Regions from separate parts of the Homo sapiens genome. Here all the other regions are linked to region 4. Evidence: promoter capture Hi-C in 16 types of primary human blood cells and fetal thymus (Javierre and others, 2016). All regions are on one chromosome and are shown on one strand. The core of a region is centred on a gene start or on the middle of the fragment in contact, and the rest is flanking DNA. Distances in the headings are between cores, read along the strand shown. Region 1 overlaps LOC124902913 (a long non-coding RNA gene). Region 2 holds the start of DENND5B-AS1 (DENND5B antisense RNA 1). Region 3 overlaps ETFBKMT (electron transfer flavoprotein subunit beta lysine methyltransferase). Region 4 holds the start of YARS2 (tyrosyl-tRNA synthetase 2).

Region 1 (3,901 bases), core at 1,167-3,666, 1.1 Mb before region 4:
ATCCCAGCACTTTGGGAGGCCGAGGTGGGCGGATCACGAGGTCAGGAGATCAAGACCATCCTGGCTAACATGGTGAAACCCCGTCTCTACTAAAAATACAAAAAATTAGCCAGGCATGGTGGCGGGCGCCTGTAGTCCCAGCTACTCGGGAGGCTGAGGCAGGAGAATGGTGTGAACCTGGGAGGCAGAGCTTGCAGTGGGCTGAGACCACACCACTGCACTCCAGCCTGGGGAACAGAGCGAGACTCCGTCTCAAAAAAAAAAAAATACTTACCAGGCTATCACCCTTCTGACAGAAGAGACTTACCAAATAAGACAAATGGCTCTACAAAACTGTATGGCTTTAGACATTTTAACTGCAGCCCAAGGGGGAATTTTTGCCCTGATCAAAACTGAATGTTGTATTTATATTCCTGAGTATTCCCATAATGTATCCCAGGCTATGAGTTCCTTGGAAACTCACATTACAGCATTAATTCTCTGTCTCAAGGCCCCATAATGGCCTGGTTTGTTAGCTATCCAGTACTTGGAAAGCATTTCTTTTCAGCATGCTTGGTATTGTAATACTCGTTATTATAAATTGCTGTGCTTTTTACTTCTGTTGCACTTGTGTAGGTTTGCAAGATAAAATAGCTCAGCAACTTCTTTGCCCATCTATTTACTCATTTCATATTTTACCTTTATAGGAACTATTGGGACATTGCTCAAGCAAGGAACCACCTGGCTCCCTGAGGAGGCTCACTGCATGCTTTCGTGAAAGGACCCTGTCCCAGCAATCGATGTCCACTATCAGCAGGAAGAAGTTACAGAAGAATGACCTTCACCCTCCTCTCCTCTTAAAATTAAGGGCTCTCTTAGCTGGGCATAGTGGCGCATGCTTGTAATCCCAGATACTTGGGAGGATGAGGCACGAGAATCACTTGAGCCCGGGAAGCAGAGGCTGCAGTGAGCCAAGATCGCACCACCACACTCTAGCCTGGGTGGCAGAGCGAGACCCTGTCTCAAAAAAACAAAACAAAACAAAAAGATTAAGGGTTCCCTCAAAATTAGTGGGGGTAATGTTAGGGAACCAGGAGCCTAGGAGGGCCAGAGTAGCACCATTTTAAGTTCAGCTCCATCTTGAGAAATAGTAAAGCCCATTCTCTGCTGGTCACGACCCACATTCATGGGCTGTTTACAGTGGAAGAAACAGCCTAAAGATACCTACAAGGACACACTCCTACTACAGCCAAGAGTCCAGATGTCCAATACCCATAACAATCTCTGTTTTCAAGATAATAATAGTTTTGCTTTGATGTATCCACACACTAGAATGTCAAGGCCAGTTTTCTTTAAATCAGTAGTCATACATTCTGTCATGCTGTCTGCTCACCCACACGTGGACACAGCTTAGCTTAGCCTTTATATAGACAAGATCTCTAGAGAAGAAAAACAAAAAACAAAGTCGAGGCGTTCCTCCTCTTGCTTTCTGAGGATGCCCTACTCTAACAGTGTAGTTTCTAATAACGTTGCTTCTTTCACTGCACTCTGTGACTCGTTTTGAAGTCCCTCCTGCTCGAGATCCAAGAACGTTCTCTTGGGGTCTGGATAGAGATCCCTTTTCCGGTAACACGATCATTGAAGGTATAGAGGTCCCGGACTGCTGGGAATATTTTATATTTCCTTTTGAAGACTCTCCATCCTGCCCTTATTTCTTAAAGCTGAGTTAATTCCATTGCACATAATTTATTTCTCCCTCCTGTATACATATCTTCCTTTTGTCCTCTTCTGTCGCTTTTAATACCGTGTGGAGGTGCAAAACCCCTTCTAGTAATGGCTGGGGAAAAAAAGTCATGTAAGTCCCAGGGTGAAATAAGACTTTCTAAAAAAAATACTTGAGTCTCAACCTCTAAAACCTTTCAAGTACCCCGATATTTCTTTTCATCTTGTCACAAATTTTTATATTCCTCTTCATCCTGTTAAAATCTCCCCTGTTTTTCTTAAATTACCACCTTTCAAGGTAAATAAAACGCTGCTGGTTCTCTTTTTATCAGTGTGCCATTTAATTTTCGGTTATTACAATAGAATGGTCTTAAATTTGTCTTTAAACTGAAAACATGCAACTCTCAAGTGATAACACGGCTTAGAGAACCTTTTGTTTGAGAGCCTGGAAACTAAGTGTCTCCATTACAATGTTTCCGACTCCCAAAATAACCAAGAGATGAGGTATCCTTGTGCCACCTTTATAAAACTCTTGGTTGTTACGTCTCATGCAGAGACACAATATTTGTTGATAGTTTAAATAATAATTATTATTAATATTAATAGAACATTTTCTATGTTCCAGGCCTTGCTTTAAGAAGTTTATAGGCATTGACTCATTTAATCCTCACCACAACCTATGAAGTAGGTACTTCTTGTTCTCTCATTTTTCAATTTTATTTTGTTTTGTACTTTTAGTAGAGATGGGGTGTCGCCATGTTGCCCAGGCTGGTCTCAAACTCTTGAGCTCAAGCAATACACCCACCTCGGCCTCCCAAAGTGCTGGGATTACAGGTGTGAGCCACCGTGCCCGGCCTTGTTCTCTCATCTTATAGACAAATTCACCGAAGCACAGAGAGGTTACGGCACTTAATCAAGCTCACAGAGCTAGTAAGTGGTGGAACAGATTGACTTTAGAGCCACTCTGTTCTGCCCTTTAACAGAATTCATTCTGTGACATATGGATTATTTTGAGTCTCATTAGGCATATTTTGAAACTACTCAGATTCATATTAAAACTCCATGAAGGTAGGACCGAAGTCTTATTCATTTTTGTTTCTCCCACAAATTTTTTTTTTTTTTTCTGAGATGGAGTCTCACTCTGTTGCCCAGGCTGGAGTGCAGTGGCGTGATCTCAGCTCACTGCAACCTCTGCCTCCCGGGTTCAAGCAATTCTCCTGCCTCAGCCTCCTGAGTAGCTGGGACTACAGGCACACACCACCACACAGGGCTAATTTTTGTTTTTCGTTTTTGTTTGTTTGAGACGGACTCTTGTTCTGTCACCCAGGCTGGAGTGCAGTGGTGCGATCTCAGCTCACTGTAAACTCTGCCTCCTGGGTTCAAGCGATTCTCCTGCCTCAGCCTCCCATGTAGCTGGGATTACAGGGGCATGCCACCACGCCCAGCTAATTTTTGTATTTTTAGTAGAGACAGGGTTTCACCATTTTGGCCAGCCTGGTCTTGAACTGCTGACCTCAAGTGATCCATCCACCTCGGCCTCCCAAAGTGCTGGGATTATAAGCGTGAGCCACCGCACCTGGACAATTTTTATATTTTTTCTAGTAGAGACGGAGTTTCATCATGTTGGCCAGGCTGGTTTCGAACTCCTGACCTCAAGTGATCCGCCTGCGTCGGCCTCCCAAAGTGCTGAGATTACAGGCATGAGACACCGCACCTGGCCCCCTAGCAGGTTCTTGATAGTTGCTGACAATGGAGCTAGCTGGGGATTCTTTCCTCCGATGGTCATTATGCATTATAGACAAGGTTCCTGTGTTCTCATTATGCCCCCAAGGAACATGCTTCAGCAAACGTGAAAAATGCCAGAGCCATACATTTTTTTTTTTTTTTTTTTGAGACAGGGTCTCCCTCTGTCACCCAGCCTGGAGTGCAGTGGCATGATCACAGCTCACTGCACATTCATCTGCCCAAGCCCAAGTGAGCCTCACACCTCAGCCCCCAAGTAGGTGGGATTACAGGTGCACTCCACCACACCCGGCTAATTTTTGTATTTTTTTGTAGAGTTGGGGTTTCGCTATGTTGCCCAGGCTAGCCTCAAACTCCTGGGCTCAAGCAATCCTCCCGCCTCGGCTTCCCAAACTGCTGAGATTATAGGCGTGCACCACCATGCCCAGCCCAGAGCCATACATGTTGGTTTAACCAA
Region 2 (4,412 bases), core at 316-2,815, 1.2 Mb before region 4:
TCCTCATAGCACTTATTAACATCTGGAGAACTATATACAGTCGGCACTTCACGTGGACTCCGCATCCACAGATTCAACCAAGCACAGATTGAAAATGTAGTTAGGCCTACAATGGTTGCATCTGTACTGAACATGTACAGACTTCTTTTCTTGTCATTATTCCCTAAACAATACAGTATAACAACTATTTACATAACATTACAACGTAACAGGTATTGTAAGTAATCTAGAGATGACAAAGTGTACAGGAAAATGTTCATAGGTTATATACAAATGCTACAACATTTTATTATAAGAGACTTCAGCATCCGAGGATTTTGGTGTGGGGGACACTCTAGAATCCATCCCCCATGGTTACGGAGAGATGATTGTATTTTCATTATCTCTTTACACTAGAACGTATGCTCCATGATGGCAGGGATTTCTGACTGCTTTCTTCACAGCTGTCCCCAGTGCCTAAAAAACCGACTACAGATAGATGCTTTCAAAACTGTTGGATGAATGATACTGAAATATTACAAGGCAAAATACATTATTACCTGAATACATTAAATATTATGAGAAGCAGAAATCCCAATCACCCACACTCACACAGTTTTGCAAAAAGAGACATCATAGTTTGTTTCTTAAAAATGCATTAAAGTCTAATTGATGGTTTTGTTAACATCATTCTCTCTGTGCCTAAAGAGTCCTAGGTCACACCTAAAAGGTACAGTTTTAGCTTCAGTAGGCAAACGGAAAAGAAAAATACAGGCTTTTTTCCTTTCATTAGTCATCACTGACAGAAGGCCTCCAAGTGACCCTGGTGCCACAAATGTTTAGGATCTTTAGGGAAGAAAGGAGTCTAGAAAAATAACAATATTCCTTCACCAATCTCGAGAAGAATCTCTCCAAATCTCTCTGCAGACATTTTTTCTTCATATCCTTTAACAAAGCCATTCTTAACATGTACATGAAATCTTAGTTGAAGAAACAATGTGATTACATAATTACACATACGGAAAAACTTGGTATTCTATTATCTCTCCAAATTTTTTTTTAACTAAAACTAGACTTACAGTTTTTGTTGAAAATGTTTTGTGTTTCTACCTCCGAAGAATATGAAAAAAAGAAAATGTTTTGCTCTGAAGCTGAGTTAAGAAGAAGATAGCCAAGACGTGGGTTGATGGGGACTGTATTTTAAGGCTGAACAGTTTTGTTTACTATTGTTTATTATTTAATATATTCTTCCCAGTCTCCCCACCCCCACCAAAGGAAAAGCGAAAAATTTACGTTAGTGCAATCAATAAGGAATTATTTGTCCAAAGGAAGTTGTTCTGAAAGGCTATGACCTAAGTCTTTAACACAAAGTTCAGGCGGTAGATGTCACTTCTCTCACCCATTTAACAACAACAACAAATCAAGATTCAGATCCCGCGGAGGCAAGCAGAAAGGAACAGGCGTGAAAAATGAAATCAGTTGTTTCTCCCCGGCCTCCTCTCGACACTGCGCACTCCGCTGCCCTGCCCCCGCCCATCGCCCTTTAGCGGCCCCTTTTAACGGCGTCGTTTGCCCAGCACAGCCCCGCACTGCGCCATCAAATGAGTCAAGCGGAAGGACCGGTACCCCTCCGGGAAAACCAGGCACTAACACACGGTGCACCCAACTGAATTTAAACTCGGGAACAGTGTAGGCAGTGTCAACAAAGCGCGGTGCTGGGTCCCGAGCGTCCAAAGGTCCCTGCCAGCTCCCAGACGCGGCCAAATCCACAGGATTCCAAAAGGTGACTTGGCCGGCACCGCAGAGCGGCAGGCGGCGCAGAGGGCAGAGTCCGACCGGTCCCCGCCCCGCGCTCGCTCCGCACGGCCACCGGCTCCTCCGCGGACGCTACCCCGGCGGGAGCCGAGCTGAGTCCGACTCCCCGTCTCCCGAAGAGGCCCGAAAGCCGCGTCACGTGCGGGGCCGAAACTTCGCGGCCGGGGCCGGGTGGCTGGCGGGTGGGAGGCAGGCACGGCGGTCGGGGGGCAGCCCGCGCGCCCGGTGACTCACCGGCCGCCTCCGAGTGCGGCTGCAAGCGAAGGGGCCGGCGCGCCAGGCGGGGTCCGTGCCCTTGGGGCCACCCCCGCGCCTGTTATTAATAACCCAGCGCCTGGAGGCGAAAGCCCCGGTGGGCGCAGCCGCAAAGCCCGCACGCGGAATAAATAACAATGTCATTAAATCGCGCCCGAGCGCCAGTTCGGCCAGAAAGCGGCGGGAGGGCGCCACCGGGAGCTGACTTTGTCTGGAGCCTGCACCCCGCCTCCCGCGCGTCCCCACAGCGTCCCCCGCGCCCCTGAGGGGGCTCAGCGCCGCCGCAGCCCTGGCCTTACCCGCCAGCTCGTCAGGCTCCAGCCCGCTGTCCGCGTCGATCCCGCACAGCACGAAGTAGTGCGCGAAGCGGCAGGCGGCCGGGGAGGAGCCCGAGCCCGGGCCGGGCGCCGCGCAGCTCCCGCTCATCCCGGCCGCGCTGCTCCAGGGGCCGCCGCCGCCGCCGCCCGGGAAGGCTTTCTGCGGAGGCTGCCACCACCGCTCCGGCTGTGGTCTGTGCGCCCGCCCTAGGGCGACACTGGCGCGCCCATGGCCGCGCAGCCGCCTCTCGCCGCCGCAGCCTGCCTCCTCGCTCGGCGCGGGGGAAGCGGCCGCGGGCTCGCGCGCGGCGGGTCCGGAGCCCGGCCGGGTGGGGGAGGGGCGCGGGGGGAGTGTCGGCCTGAGAGGCCCTCGCAGCCGCAGCTGCGCTCGCGAGCTGAGAGCCGCCGCGTCTGGCGCCCGCGGGTCAGCTGAGCGGCGCTCGGGCTGTGGGAGCGCGGGGCGGGCGGGGGCGCCGGGGCTCGGCGCGTGCGACGGAGAGGGGTGGGGGGCGCGCTCGCGAGGGACGGAGGCGCGCGCTTCTACCGTGCGCGCGCGCCTAGCGGGTTCGGAGGCCAAGCCTGGCGTGGGGCCGCATTCGTGCCCACTGGCCCCGGCTGCGGCATCGAGGGCGACCCTGCACACACCCCTCCTCGCCCTGGCCAGCCGATAAGAGGGCTAGCCTCAGTGTGGGGGTCTGTCTTCTAAAGGGGTTGTCACCCATCCTTATTTCTTTTAATGCAGCTTTGGGGAAGGTGAACAGCCGCTCTGAGATCATTTCGCATAACGGTCTGAACCATCGTCTTTTAAACTGTGACCTGTGTGGGGGTGCCTGTCTCACTTTAAGGTCCTCCCTTCCCCCAGCCGTCACCCCATTTACAGGCCATCCTTAGTGACTTAGTGACAAGTCAACCGTGAGGGGGAAAAAACACAACTCAATACCCACAAAGCGTTGAGACTTCTAGAAGGAGTGCAGTCACCAACCCCCGCCTTCTGTCATTTATCCTGACATTTTCCAGGTCAGTGTAAATAGCCAAGGCGCTCCAGTTCCGCAGCCCTGTACCCATCCGATGTTATCGGCTCTCCCCGCAAGTAACAATCGGAGGCTAAAGCAACAGGAATTAGACCATGAACTCTGCTCCTCCCAAAGGCACGGCTTTCTTGCCCTGCTCAGCTGTCTTTTGCCTTCTCGGAAGGAACTCGACAACCAGTTCTTTTTCCTTTGAAAGAAAACTGGCTGGGCTCAGTGGCTCACACCTGTAATTTACTCAACACTTTGGGAAGCCCAGGTAGGAAGATCACATGAGACCAGGAGTTCAAGACCAGCCTGGGCAATAGAGGGAGACTCTGTCTCCATCTAAGTAAAAAAATAACATTTATTTATTTAAAAAATAATTTTTTAAGAGACAGGGTCTCACTGTATTGACCAGGCTGCTCTCAAACTCCTGGGTTCAAGTGATCCTCCCGCCTTGGCCCCCAAATGTGCTAGGATTACAGGCATAATAAGCCACTGTGCCCGGCCATGTAAGTAAAAATAAAACTTAAAAGATAGAAAACTGAATGCAATTCATCTCCACATGGCAACCCCTTCCACACCACTCCCTGCTTTCTTCTTTGGGGATTTGGGGCATCTACCACTAGACATACAAGCAAACCTTCCAGAGAGGTTGCCTGAGAGAACCTCGATTATTTGACTGAATAATGTTCTTCCTAGAAGATACATGTGCGTGCATACCATCATTTAATGTAGCTTGTATCTTCACTTTCTTTCTTCAATTTTGAAATGAAAGAGGCTGGCCATGGTGGCTCAGGCCTGTAATCCCAGCACTTTGAGAGGCCAAGGCAGGAGGAGCATTTGAGTCCAGGAATTCAAGACCAACCTGGGCAAAATAGTGAGAGACCCTGTCTCTATAAAAATAAAATGAGGCCGGGTGCAGTGGCTCAAGCCTGTAATCCCAGTCCTTTCGGAGGCCAAGGCGAGAGGCTCACTTGAGGTCAGGAGTTTGAGACAAGCCTGGCCAACATGGTGAAACTCCGTCTCTACTAAA
Region 3 (3,886 bases), core at 166-2,665, 1.1 Mb before region 4:
ATTTATGAAAGAACTTTAAAGGTACAGTTGGCCCACAATATAACAATATAGCAATATAAAATTACAACAATAAAAATAACACAAAAATAGTGTAACAACTACTTATATAGCATTTACGTTGTATTAAGTATTATGAGTCATCCAGAGATGATTTAAAGTAAAGTATACCACAGCATATGCCTAGTTTATATACAAATATGATGCCATTTTATATAAGGGACTTGAGTATCCTCTGATTGTGGTATCCTGGAAGCAGGGGATACCGGAACCAATCACTTGAGGATACTGAAGGATGACTGTATGGCTGATTTCCTGTAAGAGGCATTTTCTTGAGGATTCTTTCAAAATCAAATGCTTGTATATTTGTTGTGTTAAATTACTAAAAGGATTCTCTTGTGAAAAGTATCATTTAAAAAGATTGGATTTTCCCAATTGATGCACCAAAGCTTTCATCTGAAATGAACTTGCACATGTGAATCATCAGATACAGTAATATACACTGTAATATTTTATTTCTTTTTTTTTTTTATGAGACGGAGTTTTGCTCTTGTTGCCCAGGCTGGAATGCAATGGTGCGATCTCGGCACACTGCAACCTCCGCCTCCCGGGTTCAAGCAATTCTCAAGTAGTGAGATTACAGGTACCCGCCACCACGCCTGGCTAATTTTTTGTATTTTTAGTAGAGACAGGGTTTCACCATGATGGCCACACTGGTCTTGAACACCTGACCTCGTGATCCACCCGCCTTGGCCTCCCAAAGTGCAGGGATTACAGGCGTGAGCCACCGCGCCCGGCCAATATTTTCTTATTATGTAATAGGATCTAGAAATGTTGCTCTTCCTCAGAATTCTCAGTATTACTTTTCTTTTTTTTTTCAGAGTCAGAGGTTCCGGTTGAGATCAAGTTGGGAGACACACCCTTGTTCATTCTCCTTGAGAAGCAGCTATTATCAACAGAACATTGACAGAACCTGTGTTTGGGGAAAGGACTGATGGCTTTGAGTCTAGGTTGGAAAGCACACAGGAACCACTGTGGTCTCCTCTTGCAGGCTCTGCGAAGCAGTGGTCTTCTCTTGTTTCCCTGTGGCCAGTGTCCCTGGAGAGGAGCTGGAAGCTTTTTGGACCCTGAGATAAAGGCTTTCCTGGAGGAGAACACTGAAGTCACCAGCAGTGGTAGCCTCACCCCTGAAATCCAGTTGCGGCTTTTGACCCCCAGATGCAAATTCTGGTGGGAGAGAGCTGACCTGTGGCCCCACAGTGATCCTTACTGGGCAATCTACTGGCCAGGAGGCCAAGCCCTGTCTAGGTACTACCCTAATGAAACCTTTAAGGCGCTACAGATCTTTGCTGTTTTCAGTTCCCTCCAACCTCTACAAAAAACCAGAGCAATGCTAGGCGTGGTGGCTCATGCCTGTAGTCTCAGTACTTTGGGAGGCTGAGGCTGTAAGCTGTGATCCTGCCACTGCACTCTCGCCTGGCCTGTCTCAAAAACAAAACAGAAACCGGCAAAACTCAGTCTTGTTGTTTTCTTTTTTCTTTCTTTCTTTTTTTTTTTTTTTTTTGGTAGAGACAGGATCTTGCTATGTTGTCCAGGCTGGTCTTAAACATCTGGCCTCCTCAACCTCCCCAAGTGCTGGTATTACAGACATGAGCCTCTGAGCCTAGCCTCAGGTTAGCCATATTTTTTGTTGCCTTGTTGCGTAATTTCCCATTCTAACCCAAGCTTATCAAGCTATTTTCCCAAGTAACTGTCTCCCCAAGAGAAATCCTAGAGTCAGCTGTCAAGACCCTGGATAGCTATAAGTGATCCAGAAATCTCACCTGTTAGGAGGTTCATAGTTCATAGCGCATGACCATTGCAGAGTTCCTAGATGGAAGCTAAACACCCAGTCCTTTCGCTCTCCTTTAATTCAGTGAATGTCGCTCCATAAACCTCACATTCCTTCCAGAGTTGCTTATTTTCCCATAAAACAGGAGCTGTGAGTGAGTGGGCTGTTCAAAGTTTCCCTCTTCTGTTGGGTGCAGTGCCTGTAATCCCAGTGCTTTAGGAAGCCAGTGCAGGAGGACAGCTTGAAGTCAAGAGTTTGAGACCAGCGTAGGCAACATAGTGATACCCCTATCTCTACAAAAAAAAATTTTTTTTTTTTTTGAGACAGAGTCTCACTCTGTCACCCAGGCTGGAGTGCAGTGGTGTGATCTCGGCTCACTGCAAGCCCCGCCTCCCGGGTTCACGCCATTCTCCTGCCTCACCCTCCTGAGTAGCTGGGACTACAGGCTCATGCCACCATGCCCGGCTAATTTTTGTATTTTTAGTAGAGATGGGGTTTCACCATGTTGATCAGGCTGGTCTCGAACTTCTGACCTCGTGATCCGCCCTCCTCGGCCTCCCAAAGTGCTGGGATTACAGGCGTGAGCCACCGCGCCTGGCTTAATTTTGTATTTTTAGTAGAGACAGGGTTTCACCATGTTGACCAGGCTGGTCTCGAACCCCTGACCTCAAGTGATCCGCCAGCCTCGGCCTCCCAAAGTGCTGGGATTACAGGCATGAGCCATCGTGCCTGGCAGTAGCAGCTATTTAGACAGGGCATGTATGCCTCTACTTTGCCATAGTGTTAACTGGTTGATGTCAAGTCCCAGGTTCTTAGTGCCATCAACAAAGAATTGGACATGACACATACAAGTAGCAAGGCAGCAAACAGTTTGTTAAGCAGAATGCAATCAGCAACGGATCAGGCTGACCTGCGAGTGGTATCAGCCCCAGTTTGTTATAGTTCATGGCCTTTTATATGTTTTTTCCTCACTTGCTTAACCTTACTTTGTTTTTCGTAAGTGAATTGCTCATCCTGGCCTTTCCCTCATTGTGCCTAAACCGCACTTTATTTCTCATAAGCTAATTGTGCATCCTTGCTTAACCTTATTTTATCTTTTCTGACAAAATTGCTCATCTTTACTTTTAGTTCTTGTAACCAAATTGCTACTGCAACCCCTTTCCACTTATTTTCCTTATCTTGCATGTTCTAACTCATTGCTTACTCCCGTATCTCTTACTGCTTACTGTCTTATTTCATATGTCCTGTTTCTGCTATCTTGTATGCTTTGCTTTTGGTATTGCTTCAGCTAGCCTATGTCCAACGGGTCCCCTTCACCCCTGACTTCCTCTGCCATTCTCCTGCCTCAGTAGTACCCACTGTTCCTTATTACTCCAATCCGAAGATCAAGAGTCAGCTGAAATTTGTTATTTCAGCGTTTCTCCATCCCTCTTCGCTTGTTTGGTAACTATTTAGCTCCAGTCCAAATTCCTTGGTTGAATTGGACTTTGAGTTTTACCAGAGAGGTCATTATACTACATTTCAAGCAGCAGGAAAATCACTCTATGATGGAGTCAAGAGGAGACAGTGACTCTTGGATTGAGTTTACTAATTTTAGTCTTTGTTTTAGCAGTATTTTGTCAGTCTTAATTCGTGGTGCTCGGTAGTTTCTGGAACATACTAAGTATTCAATACTTTGTCAGCCGAAATGAGAGACTGAGGCATGAGTCTCAACCAGTCAAGGTTTGTTAAGCCCAAGAAAAATGCAAGTCACAGAAAAGTTTGTGGCCTGTGCTCTTCTAAGAGGTTTTTAGGAGGCACAGTATTTATACATTTCTTTTTCTTTCTTTTTTTTTTTTTTTTTGAGATGGAGTTTTGCTCTTGTTGCCCAGGCTGGAGTGCAATGGCACAATCTTGGCAGACTGCAGCCTTCCCCTCCCGGGTTCAAACGATTCTCTGCCTCAGCCTCCCGAGTAGCTGGGATTACAGGCATGTACCACCACGCCTGGCTAATTTTGTATTTTTAGTAGAGACGGGGTTTCACCCTGTTGGCCAGGCTGGTCTCGAACTCCTGACCTC
Region 4 (4,079 bases), core at 371-2,870:
CAGGCAGGTTCTAGGCAGGCCAAGGGGAAGTGCTACATAACAATGGACTAGAGATTTTGAAAGGCTGAGTGGGAAGGAGAAAACTGGGTGAAGGGGTGTCAGGAAGAGACACTAAAGGAAATCTTCTAAACGCCTTTTAAACATGTGCTTTGCTCTGTTGCACATGAGCTAGCCCTATCCTTCACCTCTCTCAAGAAAATGCTATTAGACCCGCATTACTTGTCAATTATTTGGAGTTGAAAAAACTTTTTGAGATACCAACCAAGGACTAACACTAGTTTCATGGAGGGTGCAGAGCTAAAGCAGAGGCTAGCTACTCAAGGAGGCCCAGTCACGTTCTGGTATAAACACACAAAAGCAGTTTCTCTAATTAGAGAGGACGACTTAGGCGAAGCAAAACAGACCGACCAAATCTTCACTAGTGGTCTGTTTCCCTTTTTTTTTTTTTTTTTTTTGAGACGGAGTCTCCCTCTGTTGCCCCAGGCTGGAGTGCAGTGGCGCGATCTCGGCTCACTGAAACCTTCGCCTCCCGGGTTCAAGAGATTCTCCTGCCTCAGCCTCCCGAATAGCTGGGATTACAGGCGTGCATCACCACGCCCAGCTAATTTTTAGAATACACCGTTTACTCTTAATACCCTTAATTCAGCCCTTTAATTCTTATTAGCCAGTGTTATTAACGCCATTATAGAGCCTTAATGGGGATAAAACCAACAAGAGCTGGAACGAAGGGCAGCAACTACAATCCTAAGAGTGAATCACAGGCTACTAGTGTGTAAATTATTTGGTCCCAGGATTTCCCCAAGGTTTAAAGGCACTTACTTGTTGATGAACTCATATCCGGACATGATGTTGCCTAGTTGATCAGATCCGCCCAGCTGGACCCTGCATCCATAACGCTGGAAGAGGTAATAGAAGTCATAGGCCTGGAGCACCTGGTAAAAGAACTCGGCCAAGCTCATGCCCTCGGGGCTCTTGAGCCGCAGCTGCACGCTCTGCCGGCTCAGCAGCGTCCCCATGCGGAAGTGACCCCCCACTGCCGCCAGGAAGTCCACCAGGTGCTGCTTCTGGTACCAGGCCGAGTTGTCCAGCACAGTGAAGCTGCCCCAGGAGCGCCCATCAGTGAAAAGCTGCTGGTGATTAGCCGCCAGGGCCTCAAGCCCTAGGCGCAGAGCTCGCGCGTTGGCTCGCACGCGCTCTGTCTCCAGCGCCTCGCGTTCCTTGGTACGGCCGCTCGGGTCTCCCAGGCGCGCCGTGGCGCCTCCCACCAGCGCGATCACGTTGTGGCCCGCTCGCTGCAAATGAAACAGGCCCAGCAGCGCAAGTAGATGACCCACATGAAGCGAGTCTGCCGTGGGGTCGAAGCCACAGTAAATGGTTTGGGGAAAACTCGCCGTGCCACGGTCGAAGAGCTCTGGGAGCTCTATTTTCGTCCCCGTCTCCGGGAAGAAGTCCTTGAACAGACCTCGAGCCTTCTGCGCTGCCAGTAACCCCTGAGCGCCCGAGTGGGCCTTACGCAGCCCCAAGGGCAACAATACTGAGAGATTTAGGGTACCAGACCACCGGCCCCAGGAAAAGGACCGCAAGATGGGCGCCGCCATCTTGGTAGCGGCACGAAGGGAATGCTGGGATTGCAGAGGCTCCCACCACACCCACCTACTTACAGCTCCTAGGGAAGGTGCTTCAGTGTTTTTCTGCGCATGCCCGAGACGGTTACGTAGTTACGGAGCTTGCGCTCTCAGCAGTTGAGTCCCGACTCCAAGTGGCGATTCCGCCTCAGAGCCGTCGCCTTACGTTCCCTTAAACTTAATTTTTCCATCAGCAGTGTGGATCTGCTTATGATAGTTCCTACCTCATAAGGCTGTTGTGAGCCTTAAAAATTAAAGCATTTGGCACATAACGCTTCACAAATGCTAACTTGTATTTACATTTTCACGTAAAAAGATTGTGATGCGCAAGTTCTTTGAAGTCTTGGTTCCATGCAAAAAGCTGTTCACAGAGGTTGAGAAAGGTTAGGAATTGGTTTAAGTTCGCGGAGAGATAGGGAGTTGCTGCTGAGACGCAAGCAATTTCATAGTACCGATTCCCTAATTGCACCTCGTCCCCAGTATTCATCGGCTCTTCCAGGAGGTGGCAGTCTTGTCCAAGGTATAGCAAGAAAAACTCAGTGCAATAAAGTACATGCATCAAGTCCTGTGGTTTATTTATTTTAAATACAGTTAACTAGGTTGGGACACAGCTTAGCATGAGTGGATTCAAGTTAGTAATCACATCGTGCAGCGTGACAGGTGCTCTGAATACTGACCAGGGATGAGGTTCTTATTGGCAGCTGGCTGGCAGGTGATCTAGCTTCAAAATCCCATGTTAGAGCCTGATTTCTAGGACCGCTTTCAAAATCGTCTTAGGTAGAATTCCCTGGACTCTGAGTTGGGGGGGAGACTGGTTTGCAGGAGGGTAATTGGAGTGTGCTCTTAAGAACAACACCTATAATGGAGTGAGGGAGGCCGGGTTGGGCGGAGGGAGAAAGAAGTTGAACTGTGAACAATTTGTAATAGAGGCCTCAGGCAATCCAGTAAGGGCTCTGGAGCCGGGATTTCCTTTCAGAGTCATCCTGAATTGAGGCCAGGGGGCAGACCTTTAGACCCTCTTACTGACTGCTCATTAAATGTGGGATGTTTCTGGGGAGGAAGCAAAACGCTGGGTTAAGGCTTTTGGAGAGTGAGATGTGCAGGAAGGGACTCAGCTGTGAGCAATAAGCAACCAACACTCCCAGCAGCTGGGGGATTGAGTGCCTTGGTCCTGTGACTGGGATCTGGGCCATGTTCCAAATCATTCCCTACAGGACTTTTCCATTTTTTAACGTTATAAAGTTATCTAACAAAATGAAAACTTATTTTAATAATTAGTTTCTTTGCATGTATAATTATCAGTGAATTAGTTTCTCATTGCCAAATAGTAACTTCAATAGGATTTTGAGATACTCATTCAATAGGCTATTAAACATACTCCCAACTGCTTAAGAAAATAGTGTGTTCAAAATATCTTAAAATTTGCAATCATAACCTGTTGATCTTCAGTGTTTTTTTTTTTTTTAAGTGTCACTCTGTTGTCCACACTGGAGTGCCGTGGCAGGATCATGGTTCACTGCAGCCTTGAACTCCTAGGCTCCAGCGATCTTCCTGCCTCAGCCTCCCAAGTAGCTGGAGCTACAGGTGTGGACTACCATGCCTGGCTAATTTTTATTTTTTGTTTTTGTAGAGACGGGGGTCTCACTGTATTGCCCAGGGTGGTCCTAAACTCCTGGCCTCAAGCAAGCTTCCCACCTCTGCCTCCCAAAGTGTTGGGATTACAGGCATGAGCTACTTCGCAAGGCCAATCTGCAGTCATATGGTCCACCACTTTGATCAGGGACAGATTTCAGTAGGTATGGCAGGAAATTCTCCTGAGCACACGTAAGGAAACTCACATCTGGGCCACTTGTCACTTGAAAGCCAAAAACCCAAGAGAAGAGCTGTAGTGAAAGTAAAGTTAGCTTTATTCAAGAGACCAGCAACCCTGGGGGATGCAGTGAGCTAGCGTTCAAAGACCACCTCTGGTTTTTAAGGGCAATTAAGAGAAAGGATGATAAAAAGATTTTTGTGAAACGTGTGCAGTCTCAGGTCGGCAGTAAATCATTGCTTTCTTGGTCAATATTTTGTGGCTTTCTGCAGGTACCATCAGCCTATTCTTATTAGGTCGGTCAGCCCATTCACAGAGAGGCTGATCTAGGTATTTTCTTTTATCTCTGTTCAAGATCCTGTTTTTCTGAGGCTGATTTTAGTGAATGATCTACAAAATCAAGCAAAGTAATAATTGTATTCAAGTAAGCAAGCTTTCTTCTAACATGGAATCAGTACTGTCACACACACAGCAAATGGTGCTTTCTATTTAGTACCTTAATACATAGGGCACACATGTGTTTCTGGTGACACACAACTCTCTGGCTTTTACAGGTGTGTTAGTAATTTGAAAATCCTACTTGTTACAACAGTATGCCAGGGTTACTTGATGTCAGGGTTACTTGATGACCTGTGCTTAATGGA

The links. The method cuts DNA at HindIII sites, captures the fragments that hold promoters and counts their contacts. A CHiCAGO score of 5 or more calls a contact.
Region 1: a fragment that was not itself captured here is called in contact with the fragment with the promoter of YARS2 in region 4 in 4 of 17 cell types (total CD4 T cells, naive CD8 T cells, total CD8 T cells and 1 more); the score reaches 8.9 in total CD4 T cells.
Region 2: the fragment with the promoter of DENND5B-AS1 here is called in contact with the fragment with the promoter of YARS2 in region 4 in 3 of 17 cell types (activated CD4 T cells, fetal thymus and naive CD8 T cells); the score reaches 5.4 in activated CD4 T cells.
Region 3: a fragment that was not itself captured here is called in contact with the fragment with the promoter of YARS2 in region 4 in 2 of 17 cell types (naive CD8 T cells and total CD4 T cells); the score reaches 5.5 in naive CD8 T cells.

Annotation. Positions count from the first base shown.
Region 1 is chr12:31,640,440-31,644,340 of GRCh38, forward strand. The region is part of intron 1 of LOC124902913 (a long non-coding RNA gene); the gene reads right to left. Among named protein-coding and RNA genes, the nearest start is that of ETFBKMT, 17 kb to the right of the region's middle. The HindIII fragment of the contact is 8,322 bases long and covers 1-3,901 here.
Region 2 is chr12:31,588,358-31,592,769 of GRCh38, forward strand. It overlaps DENND5B-AS1 (DENND5B antisense RNA 1), which reads left to right and starts at 1,566. Exons shown (of 3, transcript NR_046909.1): 1 at 1,566-1,762. DENND5B (DENN domain containing 5B) reads right to left here and starts at 2,779. Exons shown (of 21, transcript NM_144973.4): 1 at 2,349-2,779. The coding sequence starts at 2,475. RefSeq lists enhancers at 1,300-1,379, 3,360-3,589 and silencers at 1,810-2,149, 2,300-2,569, 2,640-2,929. The HindIII fragment of the contact is 7,998 bases long and covers 1-4,412 here.
Region 3 is chr12:31,660,963-31,664,848 of GRCh38, forward strand. It overlaps ETFBKMT (electron transfer flavoprotein subunit beta lysine methyltransferase), which reads left to right. Exons shown (of 4, transcript NM_001135863.2): 2 at 879-1,305. The coding sequence starts at 992. Among named protein-coding and RNA genes, the nearest start is that of ETFBKMT, 3.2 kb to the left of the region's middle. RefSeq lists an enhancer at 1,121-1,240. The HindIII fragment of the contact is 609 bases long and covers 1,112-1,720 here.
Region 4 is chr12:32,754,277-32,758,355 of GRCh38, forward strand. It overlaps YARS2 (tyrosyl-tRNA synthetase 2), which reads right to left and starts at 1,621. Exons shown (of 5, transcript NM_001040436.3): 1 at 820-1,621. The coding sequence starts at 1,598. RefSeq lists enhancers at 561-1,200, 757-916, 1,201-1,840, 1,287-1,386, 1,407-1,636 and 1 more. The HindIII fragment of the contact is 6,832 bases long and covers 1-3,310 here.